Linked DNA regions of Homo sapiens: region 1 is linked to region 2. Evidence: promoter capture Hi-C in human tissues and cell types (Jung and others, 2019). All regions are on one chromosome and are shown on one strand. Each heading gives the region's core, a stretch centred on a gene start or on the middle of the fragment in contact. The rest is flanking DNA. Distances are from core to core; before and after follow the strand shown. Region 1 has its middle 50 kb from the start of RIPPLY2. Region 2 holds the start of SNAP91 (synaptosome associated protein 91).

What was found. Contacts are between HindIII fragments. The study calls those that stand out against the background at their distance.
Region 1: a fragment that was not itself captured here is called in contact with the fragment with the promoter of SNAP91 in region 2 in 4 of the 25 tissues and cell types used here (H1 embryonic stem cells, heart left ventricle, mesendoderm cells and 1 more).

Annotation. Positions count from the first base shown.
Region 1 is chr6:83,802,383-83,805,283 of GRCh38, forward strand. No RefSeq gene overlaps it. Among named protein-coding and RNA genes, the nearest start is that of RIPPLY2, 50 kb to the right of the region's middle. The HindIII fragment of the contact is 5,262 bases long and covers 1-2,901 here.
Region 2 is chr6:83,707,591-83,710,504 of GRCh38, forward strand. SNAP91 (synaptosome associated protein 91) reads right to left here and starts at 1,511. Exons shown (of 30, transcript NM_001242792.2): 1 at 1,255-1,511; 2 at 208-367. The coding sequence starts at 337. It overlaps LOC105377879 (a long non-coding RNA gene), which reads left to right and starts at 1,852. Exons shown (of 3, transcript NR_136251.1): 1 at 1,852-2,129. RefSeq lists silencers at 480-774, 1,184-1,393, 1,724-1,783. The HindIII fragment of the contact is 7,193 bases long and covers 1-2,914 here.

The DNA.
Region 1 (2,901 bases), core at 61-2,560, 95 kb after region 2:
CCAATCAGACGTAGATTTGGTCTTTTCACATAGTCCCATATTTCTTGGAGGCTTTGCTCATTTCTTTTTATTCTTTTTTCTCTAGACTTTCTTGCTTCATTTCATTCATTTCATCTTCCATCGCTGATACCCTTTCTTCCAGTTGATCGCATCGGCTCCTGAGGCTTCTGCATTCTTCACATAGTTCTCGAGCCTTGGTTTTCAGCTCCATCAGCTCCTTTAAGCACTTCTCTGTATTGGTTATTCTAGTTATACATTCTTCTAAATTTTTTTCAAAGTTTTCAACTTCTTTGCCTTTGGTTTGAATGTCCTCCCGTAGCTCAGAGTAATTTGATTGTCTGAAGCCTTCTTCTCTCAACTCGTCAAAGTCATTCTCCATCCAGCTTTGTTCTGTTGCTGGTGAGGAACTGCGTTCCTTTGGAGGAGGAGAGGTGCTCTGCTTTTTAGAGTTTCCAGTTTTTCTGTTCTGTTTTTTCCCCATCTTTGTGGTTTTATCTACTTTTGGTCTTTGATGATGGTGATGTAAAGATGGGTTTTTGGTGTGGATGTCCTTTCTGTTTGTTAGTTTTCCTTCTAACAGAGAGGACCCTCAGCTGCAGGTCTGTTGGAGTACCCTGCCGTGTGAGGTGTCAGTGTGCCCCTGCTGGGGGCTGCCTCCCAGTTAGGCTGCTCAGGGGTCAGGGGTCAGGGACCCACTTGAGGAGGCAGTCTGCCTGTTCTCAGATCTCCAGCTGCATGCTGGGAGAACCACTGCTCTCTTCAAAGCTGTCAGACAGGGACATTTAAGTCTGCAGAGGTTACTGCTGTCTTTTTGTTTGTCTGTGCCCTGCCCCCAGAGGTGGAGCCTACAGAGGCAGGCAGGCCTCCTTGAGCTGTGGTGGGCTCCACCCAGTTCGAGCTTCCAGGCTGCTTTGTTTACCTAATCAAGCCTGGGCAATGGCGGGCGCCCCTCCCCCAGCCTCGCTGCCGCCTTGCAGTTTGATCTCAGACTGCTGTGCTAGCAATCAGCCAGACTCCGTGGGCGTAGGACCCTCCGAGCCAGGTGCAGGATATAATCTCGTGGTGCACCGTTTTTTAAGCCCGTCGGAAAAGCGCAGTATTCGGGTGGGAGTGACCCGATTTTCCAGGTGCCGTCCGTCACCCCTTTCTTTGACTCAGAAAGGGAACTCCCTGACCCCTTGCGCTTCCCAAGTGAGGCAATGCCTCGCCCTGCTTCGGCTCGCGCATGGTGCGCGCACCCACTGACCTGCGCCCACTGTCTGGCACTCCCTAGTGAGATGAACCCGGTACCTCAGATGGAAATGCAGAAATCACGCGTCTTCTGCGTCGCTCACGCTGGGAGCTGTAGACCGGAGCTGTTCCTATTCGGCCATCTTGGCTCCTCCTCCTAAGCTGTAACTCTATTCATTTCTTATATACGTGGCTGGTTCTGGGTCCCTTGCGGTAAAATGATGTATCTGGTTTAAAATTAAACACAAAGATTTGATAACTTCTCATTGCTTCTAAGCATGTGAATTCTGTGGTTCAGCCAGGTAAAGATAATTTTTAAAATCAGAATTAATTTAAACTTGCAGGTGAGCATATGGCTGCTGCATTCATATAATTTCTGCTTGAATGGCCTGTGCTTTTGATGTTCTTTGCTTCTCTTTGTAAATCCTTATTTTTCTTTCCATTTGTGATCTATTCAGTTGTTGATTCCATATAACTGGAGAAGCAGTTTTAATGGAATCATCAGCAGTTTTCACTAATACTTCTCAGAGTTTTGTAGCCAGGGAGACATTTCTCCCAATTCACCTTTATTTCCTTCTGAGCCTTGAGCATACTCTACTTTTCCTGAGGAGTGATTTTCAGGAGTATGATTTGCCCCCTGAGAAGGATTTCAGTGATTTGGTAGAGGAATGAAGAGTATAAAGACTTCTTTGCTTAAGCTGTGTAGCAGCAATTTTCTTCCTTTAAAAGTTAAACCATCTCTTTTCCTTTTCCTACTCTGATATGTTCTCTTACATCAACTCTTTTTTAAAAATTAACATTTAGAGCCACAGCAGGTTGCTAAGAGTACATAGCATGCCATCGTGTTCCAGGGCCACCATGGCCTCTGCTCCTCCTGAGATCATGATCCCTGTAGAGTCCTCCCAGATGGATCTCTTATTTTCCTTACCTTTTTCCTCAAGGGCTCTGGAAGCATTTATCTTTTCATTTAAGACCATTTATAACTAGAAACTAAGCTTTAGTGCTTAGTTCCTTCAGCTGACTTTAGTCTTCCATGATTTCTGTTTCAATGCTAGGGTTTTCTGGTGTTTGATTTTGTTTTCTCTTTGTTCTGAAACATTCAACTTTCCTCTCCCCAGCATTCTATCAGGACATAAAATTGATGCCTATCAAACCCTTAGTATAAGAGTCTGTAGTATGTCACATTCATGTAAGTACATCTATGCTTGTTTATCATGCCACAAACATGTTAAATGATTTTTATCTTTGCAAAAGGTAACATTAGTGTTCCCTGAAGCCAGGTCACATGGAGTAGAATAGGTATAAATTCAGTAAACATAAATCCTGTGTTTTTTTCTTATGTTTTCAAGTCAATATTTTTCTATACACATATTTGCTTATATGTTTAGAAGTTGTTACTTGATGATTAGGGTTGTGATGAATGATACCATCCTTAGACCTAAAAAATTTGTTAAATTAACTTTTTGGTTCATATGGTGCACTCTAGTGGGGTCTACTTGAATTACAAACTGTCCTGTTCCCAGCTCCTTCCATCATTTTTGAAGATTGGGGAATTATCAGAGAGGCAGAAATTAACTAAAAATATACTGTGGCATAACATATATCATTTAAAAACTGGTGAACTCTTCTGAATAAAAGAAACATAGATCCAGAAAGGAGGTGGAAGTATCC
Region 2 (2,914 bases), core at 261-2,760:
TCAATAAGAGGAAAAAATGGCTCACAAGACAAGGTTTCATGGCTAACCCAAGGGAACACCTTCACAGCTGAAGAATTTCAGCTCAGGGGCAACCTGGCTGGGAGTATCAGAGGCCACAGCATTATGGACCAAGAGCGCAGGCCGCACCACCAGCATCCCAGGCGCCTCTGCCGTGCGCATGTCCCTCTTATATAAAGAGATGCTTACAGTCCAGGTGCTTTTTCTTGGGGCCCATTACTTCATGAGTAGTGGCTTTGCAGACCGCTCTTGCTACAGCAGAGCCTGTAACGCTGTACTGAGCGGCGGCGATCCGATCCGTGAGCGTTTGGCCCGACATCTTCTGTGGTCGCGTCTACCGCCTCCTCTTCTGCAGGAAACAAGGGGAGACGGTCCGGCTTTAATCCGCAGACCCTACCCTCCAAGCACCCAGGCCTTGCCTCCTCCAGCCGCGCGGCGGCTCTCTCCTCCTCCATCCCCACCCTGGCACCACCTCTCGGAGCCAGCAACGCGCCAAGCCCCGCTCCTGCGATGCGGTCCAGGGAGTCTTGGCCGTGAGTAGGGCCGTCACGGAACCCCAGCGTGGGCTCCAGTCGCAGCATCGTGACACCGTCCCCATTCTCCCCCGGCCCCCACATAGGGCCAGACTCACCCCCTGGGGACCCCCCTGTCAATCAGCACTTTCCCCGCAACCTGACCCGCGGGTGCTGGACTAGCCACAACGTGCGTTGGGGTTATTCCCTGGGCGCCGCACCCACCGGTGCCCATCTCCCACCTCAGCAGACTTTCCTCCTAGCAGCCCGCAGGCTTCGGGGAATGCATCGGATACCCAAGCCCTGGCTGCCTCCCTCCTCCTCCTCGCGCTGCTGCAGCAAAGGGCTCGTCCTCCCTCAGTCGCGAAGGAGATTATCCTAGCGTTGCGCCATGTTATGCCCTCGCCTCCCCTTCCTTCCTCGCCGCCGGCTCCAAAGCCTCGCCGAGGCCCATCGCCCGGGCCCCTTCCCCCCGGTTCCAAATCCCTGCCGCAGGGGCCGCCCGGGAGCTCTGCGGAGGCGCCGGAGTCTTGGGGCGCCTCACCCTTCCTGGCTTTGGAGAGGAGCCGGGCTGACAGCGAAGCCCAGTCCCCCGCCCGCCCTGGAGCGCTCCGCGGAGCTGTCACTCGGCCGCTGCCCTTCTCCGCACCCTGGGATTATCCTCTGCGGATCCCCGCGAGACCCTGGCGCGGGGAGGGGGCCGAGTACGGCCGCGGGTACTCACCCCGCCCCTGAGCGGCGCCGCCCGCCGCAGGATGAGCGGAGCCCGGGCCGCCGAGGGAAGCCGCGCCGGTGGATGTGTGCGACCGCGCGTAGCCCCGGTGCCCCCGGGCGCAAAGTCTCCAGCCCTGGCCGGGCCCCGCTCCTCAGCTCCGCGGTCCCGGCGCCCACCGCCCCTGGCCCCTGGCCCCAGAAGCCAGTACCCGCCCGCCGCCGCCTCTTCTGCCAGCGCCGCCGCGTCTCTCTAGCGCTCCGAGCTGCGTCCCCATCCCCGCCCCCACCTCAGCTGTGGCTCCTCCGACGAGTCAGGTGACGGCGGCGGACAAACCCGGACGAGCCCTCGGCGGAGCGCCTCGCGGCCCCCTCCCAGCTACTCACACACACCGCCCCCCGGGGCCGGGAGCTTAAAGGCGAGGGGGCGCCTCGCGCAAGCATCCCCGGCAAGCCGGCGGGGAGAAGAAGGAGGCGGGGAGGCCGACACCCACCCAGCCAGCGGCTCTCCGCTGGGCGCCGGGCCGCCCCTCCGCTGCTGGCGCCGCACCCGGCACGCACTGGGCTCGCGCACCACGCACACCTGCCCGCCGACTGCGGGGGGAGCCCTGGGCGTTGGGGGCGTTGGCCAAGACGGGCGAGTGGGCTTCTCGGGTTCTACTCTGTGAAGGCCAAGGCAAGGGCGTCGTCGCGCGCTGCCTGGCGGAGCCCAGCCCCTTCCCCACACTGTCGCTGACACGCCCGCCTGTCAAAGGCTCCGAGGCCCAGATGAGCAGGGCGATTTTAAATGTCAGATCCTGCCGGCCATCCGCGACCGTCACCTGTGCGTCTTCAGCTCCTCAGGCTCCTCCGCTTGTCTCAGTTACAACTGGGAGCCCGGGTGGGCAGGTAATTCTAGCCACTTTAGTCTTAAACGGATACTGAGGTCTGCTGAAGGGAGAATAATTAACACAGCCGTTAATCGAGTCCCAGATTACCTTCGACAGTAATCATTTGCGTGCATAAAGAAAACCCTTTGTACCCTTAAGAAGTAATTTCTGCCAATTAAATATAGTGTTGGAACGTCCGTCAATTGTATGTCAAGTGTATATTCGAATAGTAAGCAGGAATTTCTAAACAGGGATGTGGAGTTGGTTAATAGCTTCACGTGTTGACATTTTCAAAGGTTGTTATTTATGTTCACCTTTTTTTTTAATTCTCACAGTAGCATGAAGATCAAAACTATATTTGTGAGCTTTCCTGGCATTTTTTCTCCTTGCTTCGGGTGGCTTCTGCTCGGCCTTGAAGCCATATATCGATACCTATCGATCTCAACGTTTTGTTATATATTCCTCTCTTTCACCTGGTACAGTGTTCAGTATGCAGTCATGATTTCCTAACTACTGAGACTGATTCTAGGACTAATTGGAAGCTTAATGACTAAAGAGAGACAGCTTAAGAGCACTATTGTCTCAAGTACTAGTCTTACCATATTTACAAGGGAAATAAAAACGCAATTCTATTAAAAAAACTTGTACTCCAGTTTTATAGCAGCTTAATATAATGGCCCCAAACTGGAGGAAAGCCAAATGTTATTCTACTAGTAAATGAATAAACAAAATATGGTATATCCACATAATGGAATACTACTTAGCAATAACAAGAAACAAACTAATACCATTCATGAATCTCAA